Linked DNA regions of Homo sapiens: all the other regions are linked to region 1. The links are contacts of gene promoters, found by promoter capture Hi-C in blood cells and fetal thymus (Javierre and others, 2016). All regions are on one chromosome and are shown on one strand. The core of a region is centred on a gene start or on the middle of the fragment in contact, and the rest is flanking DNA. Distances in the headings are between cores, read along the strand shown.

Region 1 (3,675 bases), core at 580-3,079:
AAAAGAAGTGCTGTCATCTTTAAAGTATGATGCCAAATGTCCTGAAATCCAACTAGCGATTTATAAATGATATTATCATTAATGTTTCAGATTCCCAGGGCAAAAAAAAATTAAAAATAAAAATAAATAAATTACTTCTCCAATTCCATGCTGTGTAAAATAAAAGGGCATGAGAAGTAAAATAAAAAAATACAAAGCCCAATGAAGCAACCTGCCACGTGCTTTAATTATTCGTATTTTTAATGTTCTCACATTTGTATCTTATTATTGGTTCAAAACTAAGCACCACATAATATTTAAAATTTTTATCCCATCTACTATGTATCCTAATCTGAAGACTAAGTGTGAAGTTTCTATCGTCTTGAAACAGAACAGCTACTATGAATTATCTGCCGCTGTTCATACTTAAAATTACTCTAAAATTAGTATTTTATTTATAGTAAAGTTAAGCAACAACTAACAGCCATATAGCCAACCCAGCTTTCAATAAATTCACCTTTAAACCTAAATGCATGTTTAGCAAATAAAAGCTTTTTTTCAGGTGAAAAGATAAACTAGAAAAGACAGTTACCTACTAACAATATTAGTTTAAAACCTAGGGTAGCCAGAGGATACTGAGGAAAGCAAAGGAATGCTGCCTCTTCTCCTTGGAAGAACAGAACCTGGAAAGCTACCAGGGACGCTGGCACACAGCCCACAGAAAACTGCCCACCCGGCTCCGCAGCGGTCATCACTACGGGGCCATTATTCAGGCTTCTGCTCCGCGATAAAGTAAAAATGCTCCCCTCAAATGCAAAACCAGCCAGTCCACGCGGCTTTAATTACTCAAGCAAGGCCTGTGCGACTAAAAAGCAAACAGCTGTTTTGAAGTTGGTGACAACTCAGAAACGCACTTCAAGTCAAATATTCACTTCCAAAGAGGTAAATAAGGTACATTACAAACAGGCAAACTTTTTCCCAAAGGGAGGTGGTGCCAGGCCTGGCTTCCTAAAGTTGCCGGTTTTATTTCCTCGTAACCAGGAAAAATTCCACCATCGCATCGATCCCGCTTTAATAGGTATGCGGGTGTGCTGTGCAATCTAACTAAACGCAAAGCAGAGAATGCAGAACGCAAAACACCTAGCCGAGGAGAGACTGGCAAAATAAACCACCGGGGGAGGATCCCTGAGGGGCTGCTGCGAGCCCGGCGCGGCAGAGAGCACGGCAGCCACTACCGGCCGAGGCGGCTGTGCCCGGGCACTGCGGAGAGCGGCGTGAAGTTTCTGGAAAGAGCGCGGCGGGGGTGAGGCGAGCCGCAGAAGACCGCGGAAAGGAAGCGCACGGAGGAGCGGCTCGGCAGCCCCCGTGGGCCGGCCGGAGCGGGAAAGTGGGGTCCCGCGACCTCCGAGGTAAACAAAGAGCGGTGGGCAGCGGAGGCCAAGCCTGGCCCGCGCCGGCCGCCGCCAGACCGCTTGCCCTTAAGGCCCGAGGACCCGGGGACCGGGGGGCGGCAGCGCGGCCTACGGCCACTCACCAAGATGCGTTTGAAGAGGTTGCTCTCCTTGGGCGGCAGCAGCACGTTCGGCATCGTGGCCGGCAGGGAGGCTAGGTGGCCGGCAGGGAGGCTAGGTGCCCGGGCGCTCCGCTTCGCGGGGGTGGGCACCGGGACGAACCGCTGCTGAGAGTCGGGCTGCGGGCGATGGATTAGTTCATTGGTCTACAGTTGCAATTGGGCAGCCTGGCTGTTCGGCACGGGTGGCAATGGAGAAGGAAGGCGGTCTGAGCAGGACACGCTTCCCCTGGGCTCCGCTTTTTGGCCAGCGGCGGCGGCGGCGGTTCCCGCGCACTGCAAGATGGCAGCCAGGGTCCGCCTCCCGAGCCGGATCCTGTGCGCATGCGCGGAGCGCCCTTTGGCGAGGGGCTGCGGGTGACTACGGGGGCGTAGCGGGGACCAACCGCGTGGATTTGCCTTGTGCTGCGGCTCTCCTCGCCGCAATCTCGGCACCCCCTGGGGCTCAGGCGAGCTGTCACCAAAACCTTGGAGTCCCATGGGGTGGTGAGTCACCACCCTCATTCACCATTGCTCCTATGCATCAGAACGCCTCATAAGACTCCTACTTATTGTCTGCTTCTCCTTGCAATAAAGTAATAAATAAAAACGAGAATTTTCTTTTAAGTAGAAAAGAGAAGACACTGACTTGTATTGCACTCTTGATAAGCTTGTGGCGCAAGATAATGTTAGTTATGACTCTGAAGAGTCAGAGTTTTTTGCATTTCTCCCCATTTAGGAATTTAAGTGTCCGATGCAAAGTAGACTTTTGATGAAAGATGAACTTGTTTTCTTTCCTTTTCCTCCTTGATTCAGACTCTAAGTAGAAGCCTTCTCTTTCCAGGGCAAACCAAACAAACATTTACAATCTTTGTTTTTGTTTGGTTGGTTGGTTTTGAGATGGAGTATCGCTCTTGTCGCCCAGGCTGCAGTGCAGTGGCGCTATCTGGGCTCACTGCAACCTCCGCCTCCTGAGTTCAAAGGATTCTCCTGCCTCAGCCTCCCGAGTGGCTGGGATTACAGGCATGCGCCACCACACCCGGCTAATTTTGTATTTTTAGTAGAGACAGGCTTTCACCATGTTGGCCAGGATGGTCTTGATCTCTTGACCTCGTGATCCGCCCCCGCGTCAACCTCCGAAAGTGCTGGGATTACAGGCGTGAGCCACCACACCTGGCCGGAATTACGGTTTTATAAGGCCACTGGTCTTCTGAGTCTACCTACCCTTTCTCTTCAGATGGTTCCCCTTCCTGAAAGCCATATAATAATGGGAGAAACAGGCTTCAAATTCAGGATCTTCCAACTCTGGGATACTCTCTACAACAAATAAAAGGCAGCATATTGATGGTAATGTGTGAGTCTAGAAAGATACAACAGTGGCAAGAATAAACCATACATTCAGTGTAGGGTTAGTAGTAAGGTGTGTGTAAACATTAGGTACATAAGTTTATTTATACATGTGCTGAATCTTAATGGGTGCATATTTCTGAGACTATAAAGTAATTGATGAGTAACTGCATTTAGTCGGCTGTAATCAGAACTGGGCTGCCCTTTTTTATTTTCCTTTTTTTGAGACGATGTTTTGTTCTTGTTGCCGAGGCTGGAATGCAATGGCGCTATCTCAGCTCCCTGTAACCTCCGCCTCCCAGGTTCAAGCGATTCTCCTGCCTCAGCCTCCCAAGTAGCAGGGATGACAGGCATGCACCACCACACCTGGCTAATTTAGTATTTTTAGTAGAGACGGGGTTTCTCCATGTTGGTCAGGCTGGTCTCAAACTCCCGACCTCAGGTGATCTGCCCACCTCGGCCTTCCAAAGTGCTGGGATTACAGGTGTGAGCCACAGTGCCTGCCTATTTGATTTTCCTTCTTTCTAGCCTAAGTTGGTTGGACATGAAAGAATCATAGGAGTCTTTTTTTTTCTTTCAATCTCCTACGTTTCACACATGATTTTAAAGCATCATAGGAGTCCTTTAAAATAGGGAAAGTACTGTCATTAAAATTGGGGGTCCACAGCAATCCCATTGCTGGGTATATACCCAAAAGAATATAAATTGTTCTACCGTAAAGACACATGCACAGCCAGGTGCAGTGACTCACGCCTGTAATCCCAGCACTTTGGGCGGCTGAGGCAGGCGGATCACCCTGA
Region 2 (3,675 bases), core at 513-3,012, 950 kb before region 1:
GTTTGAGGAAACGGCATTTCTTTTCTGTGAAAGAGAAGCCAACATTTATAAGGTGCTACTTGGGTTTCAGTGTCAAACCCTATGCTCTTCGAAGTTTAATATTAGTCTATATTTTTGTAACTTTAAAAAAATTATTGTGAACACTTCTTGCTCATTTTACTCTTTATGTAATTCTAAGAATTCTCACCTAAGTTCCAGGAAGGAATAAAGTCCTCCACTGAAGTCCACTGAAATGTATACTATGCTATCTGTTTCTTGATCATTACTACCTTTCCACATCAGCCTCCACTGAAGTACCCACATTTCTGCCTGGTCTCTAGCTACATGGTCAGTGCAGCTGTCTGCTACAGCATCCCCTCATTAAGATATGACTGGATGATGCCATCCTACAAACAGAGAGCCCTCTCTACAGAAATGATGCTTGATTCTTAGACACCATACAGAATCTATATTCCAGCCCCTTCTGCCAGAACATGGCAAATGTTTCCTCTCCTTGTTCTCAGTAATCTAATTTACCACCTCCATTGGGGACTGGGTTTTGTAATACTATAGTGTTTTCTCCTATGATCCAGCTTCTACTGGACCTTCTCATTTCTCACCCAGGAATGGCAATAATATATTAAGAGATCTAGCAAACCCTCTGCTTGCCCTCAGACAGAAGTGTGTTTCAAATGACTTACATGTTATAGAAAATTGTCATGAATCCTGCCCTCTGTTTATTCATTCATTTTGGTGAACACAAGGTTCTACTTTCCTTGACTCATGACTTCTAACAACTCTAGGTCAAAAAATGGAAGTAGTGGAATACAATGATATACAAAATATACAGAAGAACAAACACCTACTGGGAAAAGCCAAAGGTTTTCTGTGATCCCTGCCAAACATTCAGTTCCCCTGGGCCACCTTGATAATGGATTTCCTCACTAAGCTCCCTTCCTCTCAGTAATATAATACCACTTTCAGAGCTGTTCCAAGAACCAGTGGCTCACTTCCACCTATGCCAGGGAACCCCCAGAGGAGTCACTTGGATAGTAATACTGGTCCACAAAGCCATGAACAAAATTGCTGTGGTCTGAGGACCCTTCTGTATTTCTATTTAGGGTGATTTTACATTCTATTTTGACTGGTACAATCACAGTTGCTGCCTGTTATTAGCGCCTCTTTTATTTTTCAAAAATATCTCAGTTTAGAAAAGAATTTGGATACCCTGTTTATATCCTGCCTTAGGCAGAACCTCTTCTCTACCGGTCAGTCAAAATGGACCTGTCCTGGGATACGACCCCCAGACTACTAGCTGTACAGAAATAATCAGCCAACCCCTAAGGCTATAATATATTTTCAATGTGAAGTCCTAATTTGGGAAAAGGAATCAGACTGCAGGACCACAGGAAAGCAAAAAGAAAAAACAGGTAAGTTATAAGTCTGCCTTTCTTCATGGTCCAGGACACATAGCCCTCTTGCACATTTAACTCACAATCTTCCTGTGCCTAGCTATCACCAGACCCTTGGCTGATAGAAAAATGCAAATTAGCTCACTGAAACCTTAGTGTTATCAGTACTGCACAAAGCCCTCTTCACATAACAGAAGCACCATCCTATAAAATCTTCAGCAGGCCTTTGTCTCCTTGCAGTCAGCTCCTCTCTTGCTGACCTGCCCATTACTTCCTTGAAACATACTTTCATACTTTCTCTAATAAATCTGTCTTTCTTTACTTACAATTGTCTTGGTGTATTAGTCCATTTTCACACTGCTGATAAAGACACGCCCAACACTGGGAAGAAAAAGAGGTTTAATGGACTTACAGCTCCACACGGCTGGGGAGATCTCACAATCATGGTGGAAGGCAAGGAAGAGCAAGTCACATCTTACATGGATGGTGGCAGGCAAAGAGAGAGAATTTGTGCAGGGAAACTCCCATTTTTAAAACCATCAGATCTCGTGAGCCTTATTATTATCATGAGAACAGCATGTGAAAGACCCACCCGCATGATTCAAACATCTCCCACTGAGTCCCTCCCATAACACGTGGGAATTATGGAAGCTACAAGATGAGATTTGGGTGAGGACACAGAGCCAACCCATATCACTTGGTAAATTCTTATTACCACTTACACAACATCGGCCTCAGATAGTCACTATCTGCAACATTCAGTGCCACCCTTCCCACTACCAAGATAACTAACTGATCGTTTCTTCTTCCTGTCAGCTAACTTGCTTATTTAAATGTCATCCACTCTTATCTCGGAACACAAAATGTGCATTAACTACATTTTCTAACCAGGGTATTTCTTGGGCCTACTTGTGTTTGCAGCTGTAGAATATGTTGAAGAATTCTAAGCCACCAAGAATAACTGACAAGTTTTCTCAAGGATGTTAAGACCTTCAAATGATATGTCAACAGTGGTACCCAGGGACAACCCTAAAGGAATGTTACTAGTCTCAGTGACATCTTGGTAATTTCTCTATACATAACTCTTAACAAATCTACATGTTACCGTTCTCATCTCCTCATCATGACCATTGTGTATGTAACACATAATTACAACTCCTAATGCTTTCAAATTCCAGAGTGTACTTCATTAGTCCCTCCTTCATCCTGCCAAATTCAACTCCTATTCTTCATACTTTATATTTGGGAATATGTAGTTTATGTCACCTCAGACTCTCACTCCACTGGAAAGAAATCCAATACTTTAACAAATGGAATACAAGAAAAAAAACAAATACTGAGAGCCTGCCACCTCATCTCTGCCTGCCATTGGGATCTTTGGCCACTGCCCTACAGGGAAGATGCAGAGACCCACAGTGCTGGGATTTCTACTGCAATTTGGTCCCTAGAAAACTCATTAGTCCAGTTGAAGGGGGTAGCATCACCTCCTGTCCCAAGGATCTGACTCTCCTTGAGAATTCTTGAAAAGACATTTGTCAGGAAGCCTACATGGGATACATTTCCCTAGTCTGTGACTCTGGCCATACACATTACTCCTGTTTTACACATTATCTTTGGTTCTTCATAACCAACTTGACCAATGTGCCACTTGAAGGCAGGTAGCGACTGTGCCTTATTGACTCCCAAGGGTCTGTCACAAAATCAAATAATTGTCATCAATTGTTATCAACAGGCACATTTCTGCTGTTCCACAATACCTTTTCATTCTTTCTTTTCATATGGTTTCTTGAGGCTTGACCTGAGGAATGGGGACAAAATAGCAGTGAAGGTCTGGCTTGGAGTCAGTAGCCTTGAAGACAGTGGGGTGCTTAGGTTGGGTACGATGCAGTTACTAAAGAGTCTAAGTCAAGCATAAGCTGTGGTCTCTAATAGGGAAATAAATAGAGGGGTCCCAGAAACAAGCAAGAAGCCAACCTAGCATAGAACCGGAGGAAAATTAGCAGGAGGGCCAAGCTGTTCGAAGCAGAACTATTCAGGTAACCTAAGACAAAAGGATTGCTAAGAGGTGTTGCATTTTATAAGGCAAGTAGCTTGGGGACGTGACTTCCTGTGTACTCACTTAAAAGACTCCGGAGGCCACTATCATCTCCAAAACAGAGGGTTATAGTTCCAAGAAATACTTTATCTCTAGGTCTGAGTAAGGAAAGGTAATGAAAGACAGCTGTGTCCCAACACATTTTCTATTTCAAGAGCCTGCATCTCCAGTGCTTAATTTGATCAGTCT
Region 3 (3,675 bases), core at 596-3,095, 810 kb before region 1:
ACATAGAATCTAGTCATTCCAATTTTCAGTTGTTCTGTTACTAATTTCCTGTCTACATTGCTTTATTTTTTTTTTAGAAAATATGAACAGGTATAATTATCTAAAATACTGGTTTGTAGCAATTACCCTGTAGATAAACTATTAGAGGAACATCATAAAATGTATAACTTTTGAAATTTATAATATACATTTTGCATATCCATAAAGAGGCACCTCCATATTTGAGGAATTAGCGACTTAATGTAGCTAATATGTAACTAAGAAATAGACCACAGTCCTCTACGTTGGCTTTTTGGTAGCAAATGGTGAATGTACAAGCTAATCCAATCTGACTTTTCTAAAGTTAGTCACATCTTTTTATAACGCTAAAAATTATTGTGGTCTTGGATCATACAGATTTTTTAGTCAAATCAAAGAACATCTTGCAAAATTATTTGGCTAAAGTAATTATAATTCTTAGTGTAAATTCATGTTTAACTCCAAAACATGACCACTCTTTGCTGTATTCTCTGAAGACAAAATTTCCTCCTATTCATCTATATAGGTGGAGCATGTCTTCTTGATCCATGTTTCAAAATATGTGCACACATCATATGCAATGACAAGATACGCTAACAGTCTAATCTAAAAAGCTTTCCCAGGACCTGTAGAAAACATGAAGAATTATAAAGAAAGACTGACACTGTCTATTATAATTTGATGTCCCCTCTGAAACTTATGATGAAATACAATCCTCAATATGGCAGTGTTGAGACCTAGAGCCTTCAAGAAGCTATGGGGTCATGAGTGCTCTGCCTGCATGAATGGATTAATCCATACATAGATTAATGGTTAATGGATCAATGGGCTAACATGAGAGTGGAACTGATGGCTTTACAAGAGAAGAAAGAAAGATCTGAGCTAGCACATTAGCATGCTCAGCCCCCTTGCCATGTGATACTCTGTGTAACCTTGGGACTCTGCAGAGAGTCCCTGCCAGGAAGAAGGCTCTCACCAGATGCCCAGCTATGCCCTTGGACTTTCCAGCCTCCAGAACTGTAACAAATAAATTTATTTTCCTTATAAATCACCCAGCCTCAGGTGTTCTAAGCAAGAAAAATGAACTAAGAAACTGCCACTCTTTATGTGGCATAATGAGAAGCTAAATCTTGTGATGACATCATGAAGCACTCATGCCCTCTCATTCCACTTTCTCTTTCTGCCCTCTTTCACCCTTTAGCTTCTCCCTTTGGTCAACAACTAACATATATTATAAAAGTTCTACCAGAAATTATGTAGTCTAGCTACAAAGAACTATCATGTCCCTCATCAAGAACCTAATTGGGGTAGTGGGGAAAATTTTTCATGCCGCACCTCAGAAAGAAAAGTCTGACTTATGAATATTTCAAACACAAATGGTCATTAGTAATGAGAAGGTCTTTATTCTGGCTGTGTAAAGAACTCTTGAGGGAGAGACTCCACGGCGGAGGTGAGGTGTACTCTTCATTCATCACACAGACAGTATCCACTAATGAGGCTCCAAGTGAAGGACTCTCTGTGTCCCAGGAACCTGGGTTCCAAGTTAGAACTAGGAGTACATCTTTCCATAGAAACCATGTCATAAATCTGCCTTAACGCTTAAGTCCCCATGCTATAGTCTCATGTGTCTGAATCCCAAGGATACCAGTTGCCTAATACTTCTATGGGTGTAGTGGTGAGAAGGAATGAGTCCTGACATAGCTGCAGAAAAATGAACAGGAAGGTCACAGGCAAATTAGGAGGTCAATCTCAACTGAGGATAGGTTTTACCTGCCTTTTGCACTGGCCTGGATTATAAACTCCTTGGAGTCCGGGAGGTCTATCTCATTTGTCTTTGTATCACCATTGTGAAGGTTCTATAATTTATGTAAGTACAGATGCTCCTCAAGTTACAATGAACATACTAATAAACTCATCATAAGTTGAAAATATTGTAAGTCAAAAATGCATTTCATATACCTAGCCTACTGAACATCACAGCTTAGCCTAATCTACCTTAAACGTGCTCAGAACACTTACGTTAGCCTACAGGTGGGCAAAATCATCTAATACAAAGCCTATTTTCTAATAAAGTATTGAATATCTCATGTAATTGAATATCACACTGAAAGTGAAAACAGAATGGTTGCATGAGAACTCAAAGTACGTTTTGTACTGAATTCATACTGCTTTCATATCAGAAAATTGGAAAATTATTAAGTTGAACCACTGTAAGTCAGGGAATGTCTTGTGTGCGTGTGTGTGTGTGTGCGCATGTTGTGTGTGTGTGTGTGTGTGTGTGTATAATATATATTATTACTTTCATAGAAAAATGTGGTCTAAGTTCCAAACAACCAGTTCATAAACAAACTACTTCTGGAACAAAATCTAGTTGTGGGTTGGGGTCTGTAAGTAAAAAGGAAAATGGGCAAAGTAACCTCTGTGACAGTGGTTCATAACTTTGGTTGGATCAAGATGCCTTTTCAGAATCTGTTGAAAGTTGTGAATACTATCTCTCCAGAAACATGCCTGCATGTGCGCACATACACACACAATATACACACTAAAAATTACATACAATTTTAGAGGGTTCATGAACTTTCGAGATCTACCATAACTAAAAATTACAGCCTCCATATAACAGTAAATTGGATTAGTGTTTTGGTGGTTGTTTTTTAAATAATTGGATTAGTTTTTTGGTTGTTGTTTTTTAAATAAATCATATCCTTAATATGGTTATGGGTAACAAATAATAATTCTTTTAAACTTTGTCTTCAGTTAGCTTAATGGTCTCCTATACCATTTGAAACAGCGTAATTTGATATTACTTGAGGTTAGAGAGCAATAACTGAAAAATTTTGAGTTCCAATTTTCTGTTGCATTTTCAGCAGTAGTTAATAATTATATAACCAAACAAATCCTAAAATATACAGGCATTTCCTAATTCGAAAGTTTGAAATATACTTATTTATTCAATTTGAAAATTTTATTTTTGAAGATATACTACATAGTTGTTCTTCCCAAGATGATTAAACATTATTTTATAAAAATGAAAAGCTTACCCTAAGAAAAATTAATTTGAATTCAAATATTCATTCCTTCAAAACACAAAAGAATATATTTTCATTCCATGTTTTCAGTCCTAGTTTATTTTCAAACCAAGATTGGAGATGTGGAACCTCTGGGTAACATATTATTTTCACTTTAGACTAGGAAAGCTCAATTAGCACCCACACCTCAATAACCTGAAATAACCAAACAACGGTTCAGAGTCTTTAATGTCCTATCCAGTTTCATGGTTCACTGCTGCATAAAGTGTGCACTTGTGACTCATAAAAGGACACTGCCATAGAGAGAGGTCAAAAGATAATATGGGGAAAATATAACCACAGTAGAAAGGAAGTATCAAAGTTTGTATTATCAGTATTTAAGAGAGTTATTCTTCAAAAAAATAACATTGATTCAGCATTTATGATTAAAAAGAGAATGTGCAAAAAATAAGAGGTATAAAAATCAAGACTTGATAGTATGTTAAATAATCATTAACTTGATGAGAAAGGAATATGAAGTATTCATTTAAAAACATACAGATTACATGGCAAAACAATGTGAATATACTTAAAGCTACTGAAATGCACATTTAGAAATGATTAAGATAGTAAATTCTGTTATAAAATT
Region 4 (3,675 bases), core at 503-3,002, 650 kb before region 1:
ATAGTATGTCACCACCTAAAACACGATCAAAAAGTCCAGTAGCTGCCCAGTTTGCTCATCGGATGAAGTCCAACTTCATCCAGCTACTCAAGATTCTTCACTCTGTAACCTTCTCCTCCTGCTCTGCCAACACCTTCTACTACTTTCGAAAGATTAACCTCCTCATCTGGCTGGTCTCATGGCCCCTGTAACTGAACTCTGTCAGGACTCCAAGCCTCTACTTAGGCTCTATACCCCGCTTCTCTGTGTATCCAGTCCTAAATGGCATTCAAAGTTAAGCTCAGGTGCTGCCTTTTCTCAGGCTCAAAGTTTTCCTCCCCATTGTAGCTTTGTCACTCTAAAAAACCTTCACCATTTTTCCATTTCCTGGAGGTTAATGTGCAAACTCCTTCTCTTGGCATACAACATGGCCCCAGATTCTCTTTCTGGTCTTATTCTTACAAACTGTTGTATATACTTGACCTCTAGACACACTGAATCACTCTCTGGTTCTCAATCATGCCCTGCACTTTCAGCTGTTTCTTTCTCTCTCTCTCTGTACATGATCTGTCTGCCAGATTTGACTTGTCTCAGCCTGACAAACTCTTGTATAATATATCCTACATGAATCATTTCAAACACTACCTTCTCTGTGAAGACTCCAGGTGCAGCAATCCACTCCACAGTATGTTGAACCTAAATCTCTTGACACGTGTCTCACTGTATTGCAATTCTTTATTTGCATATTTATCATCAATACCTAATGTGAGCCCATTGATTCACAGTATCTAGCAGGGTACTGTTTATACAGCAGTTACTCAATAAATGTTGTCGTTGGGAGGCTGAGGCAGGAGGATCACTTGAGGCCAGGAGCTTGAGACCAGCCTGGGCAACATAACAAGACTCCACTGCTACGAAAACAAAAACACAAAAATTAGCCAGGCACAGTGGTGCACGCCTGTAGTCTCAGCTACTAGGGAGGCTGAAGCAGGAGGATCACTCGAGCCCAGGAGTTCGAGGTTGCAATGAGCTATAATACTGCCGCTGCACCCCAGCCTGGGCAACAGAGTGAGACTTTGTCTCTAAAAAAAATAAAACTAGGCAAAAAATGTTGTTGAATGCTCTAACTTGTGTTGATCTCTCCATTGTCTTAACTCCAAGAGCTCTTAGTGCTTATATCAACCACTTTGCAAAATTGCCTTAGGTTGTTCTCCCATTCTTTCAGGTGTCTACTGAGTTCCAGCGAGATTAAATGGAGATATCTTGACCAAGGTATTCAATTCTTCTAGCCTCAGTTTCTTCATCTGTAAAACGGAGGATAATAATAGTACCTCAAAGCATTTTTATGTGAAATGGGATAATTCATTAAAATCTTGATACATACAATGTGCTCAAAGTAGGAAAAGCATTTTATAAGCTTACATCCTAAATTTATGTCTTAGGGTTGCTATGAGGATTAAATGAGAAGATACACATGAAACGAAGTCATAATATATTGTGTAACTACTTATTACCTTTATTTTCACTGTCTCCTCATCTAGGTTAGAAGCCTGGTTCAGCCTTCATTCCTCAAGTTCTTCCGCTGGATGCCCAAAGCCTTCCTTACCTAGCCTTGTTTGACTTTTACAGTCTCCACTCTAACACTCTCTTCTCAGCACTCATCACAGGGTCAGGCGCAGGGTAGGTGCTATGTATTTAGACAGTGGCAGCTCTAGAATTAGCAAGGTCTTTAGCTGAAAGTGAGGTCTTCTGCCTTCTTTTTGATGTTTGCTTGTATAACTTGTCTCAAATATTTTGCCTTAGTCAATTCACTGTGACATTTTGGGGATGCAGTCTAATTACATTAGGCTTAGTTTGCTTTGTGGTAGGACCATTTCCGATGTTGGAATGTACAAGAGGGAGGCAGCCTTAGCCAGTGTCCTACTTTTTCCTTTACTAAAGACATAAATCATCTTTATATAACTTTTGTATTACAGCATGACTAGAAAAGTGCTTGATCTGGATCCTTTCTGATATTTAAGCAATTTCCATCTATCACTAAGATGTGAATTTTTTCCTTAGAATTTAGGAAGCGGTAATAAAACACAGAAACAAACAACCACCACCAAAAGGACAAAGGGTAAAGCTTTCACGTACGGTTTGGAAACACTAGTGTGGTTACAATGAATCAAGACAGTTGTGAAAGTTCCCATCATCTTGTGCATGTTTTCTCCATTTCCGAAATCTGAAGCCGAATACAGGGAAAGCTCCCTATACTTACTGGGCCTTTAACTAAGAAACGAAGACTTGGGGCAAGCATCTGAAGAGTCACACCGACAAATGCTCCTAAAACCCTTGGCATTTACTGAACTCCTGAGATTCTGTGGGATCGCAGGGAAACGGCGGGTGAAGGCCTGGTGCATCCAGGTGAACAGACAGTCTCACGGACTGCGAGGCGCTTGCCAGAGCCCAGCGCCGCAGCTCGGAGCACCCCCGCGGTGCGGGCAGTCCCGGGACGGTGCCGGCTCTTTGGGCTGGAGCTCCGCAGGCTCTTTCCGCCCGTCTGGGCCATGCAGGGCCGGGTAGGGCCGGGCTGAGTCTACTGAGCCGGCCGCGCCGCGGGGGAAGGAGTTTCCGGCGGACTCGGCTAGGTGCCGCTTCCTGTCCCCTTCTCCGCGCTGCCTCACGGTGCCTGCACGGGACGCCGCTCGATCCCCGAGCCCCCTCGCCGTCCCCGACAGCCCCCCCGGCGCCATGCAATCCCGGCTTCTACTCCTCGGGGCACCCGGAGGCCACGGCGGCCCGGCCTCGCGGCGCATGCGGCTGCTCCTGCGGCAGGTGGTGCAGCGCAGGCCGGGTGGCGACAGGCAGCGGCCGGAGGTCAGACTGTTGCACGCCGGCTCGGGGGCCGACACAGGTAACTCGGGGTGCGCCCCTGTCCTCCCTGGTGCCCCTGCGCTCCGTGCCGGGTCCCCGCGCGCCCCCGCCCCTCCTCTCTGTTGCTTCGCTGCGCTTGGAAGGACCGTTTGCCGAGCGGGGAGCTGAAAGATTGAGGTTCTAGTCCCGACCTCGGCGCTAACTGCTGTGTAACGTGGGGGCAAGGCGCTCGCCCTCTCTGTGCCTGATTCTGCAACCCGAGGGGTCTGGACTAAGGTTTCTGATGACCTAGAAGAGTGATTTCTCCTTCCCCTGCCGCTGCCTTTACCCCCAGAATTCTGACTTAGGTTATAATACTCGTAGAGGTTAATGCCTCAGCCCTATGGAATTATTGAAAGCTGGATTTGACCTTGCTCTCTGAGCCTCAAGGGCCTGGAAGCCGGTCTGTGTCATGTTCTAGCCAGGGCTTGTGGCGGCTTAGAAGGGAACATTCTTGCCAAAGAACCCATAGTTCACGGTGTTTTAAATGCATCCCCGAGCCTTTCCAAGTTTTACAGGAGTTTTCCTTAAAGTTTCACGTAATTCTTAGAGCTGACAGTTACACCTTAATTTAGTTAAAACACTTGCCTCTACAAATGAGGTAATTGAAACCCAGAAGGGAAAAGTGATTCGCTGGAGAACACACAACTAATTACTATGCTAGAATCACATGCTTTGATTTCTAAGCTCAGTATTTTTTGGCTCTACTTGAGCTGGTTTTAGGAATTCTTTTTCTTGTGTGTTGGTGGAGTTAGAGTTACTGTGATGGTTAAGGAAAGGATATCTGTTGTTGCTACCCTT

What was found. The method cuts DNA at HindIII sites, captures the fragments that hold promoters and counts their contacts. A CHiCAGO score of 5 or more calls a contact.
Region 2: a contact is called between a fragment that was not itself captured here and the fragment with the promoter of NAA16 in region 1, in 1 of 17 cell types (erythroblasts). The highest score is 6.0, in erythroblasts.
Region 3: a fragment that was not itself captured here is called in contact with the fragment with the promoter of NAA16 in region 1 in 1 of 17 cell types (megakaryocytes); the score reaches 5.3 in megakaryocytes.
Region 4: a fragment that was not itself captured here is called in contact with the fragment with the promoter of NAA16 in region 1 in 5 of 17 cell types (fetal thymus, total B cells, monocytes and 2 more); the score reaches 8.7 in fetal thymus.

The regions. Positions count from the first base shown.
Region 1 is chr13:41,309,421-41,313,095 of GRCh38, reverse strand. It overlaps NAA16 (N-alpha-acetyltransferase 16, NatA auxiliary subunit), which reads right to left and starts at 1,829. Exons shown (of 20, transcript NM_024561.5): 1 at 1,514-1,829. The coding sequence starts at 1,567. It also overlaps a transcript of MTRF1 not described here. The HindIII fragment of the contact is 1,668 bases long and covers 533-2,200 here.
Region 2 is chr13:42,259,595-42,263,269 of GRCh38, reverse strand. No RefSeq gene overlaps it. Among named protein-coding and RNA genes, the nearest start is that of AKAP11, 11 kb to the left of the region's middle. RefSeq lists a cis regulatory region at 3,297-3,675. The HindIII fragment of the contact is 3,886 bases long and covers 1-3,675 here.
Region 3 is chr13:42,119,692-42,123,366 of GRCh38, reverse strand. All of the region lies in intron 1 of DGKH (diacylglycerol kinase eta), which reads right to left. Among named protein-coding and RNA genes, the nearest start is that of DGKH, 73 kb to the right of the region's middle. The HindIII fragment of the contact is 2,422 bases long and covers 635-3,056 here.
Region 4 is chr13:41,960,053-41,963,727 of GRCh38, reverse strand. VWA8 (von Willebrand factor A domain containing 8) reads left to right here and starts at 2,619. Exons shown (of 45, transcript NM_015058.2): 1 at 2,619-2,875. The coding sequence starts at 2,713. It overlaps VWA8-AS1 (VWA8 antisense RNA 1), which reads right to left and starts at 2,559. Exons shown (of 4, transcript NR_039974.1): 1 at 1,494-2,559. RefSeq lists a silencer at 2,540-2,949 and enhancers at 3,150-3,289, 3,385-3,675. The HindIII fragment of the contact is 708 bases long and covers 1,399-2,106 here.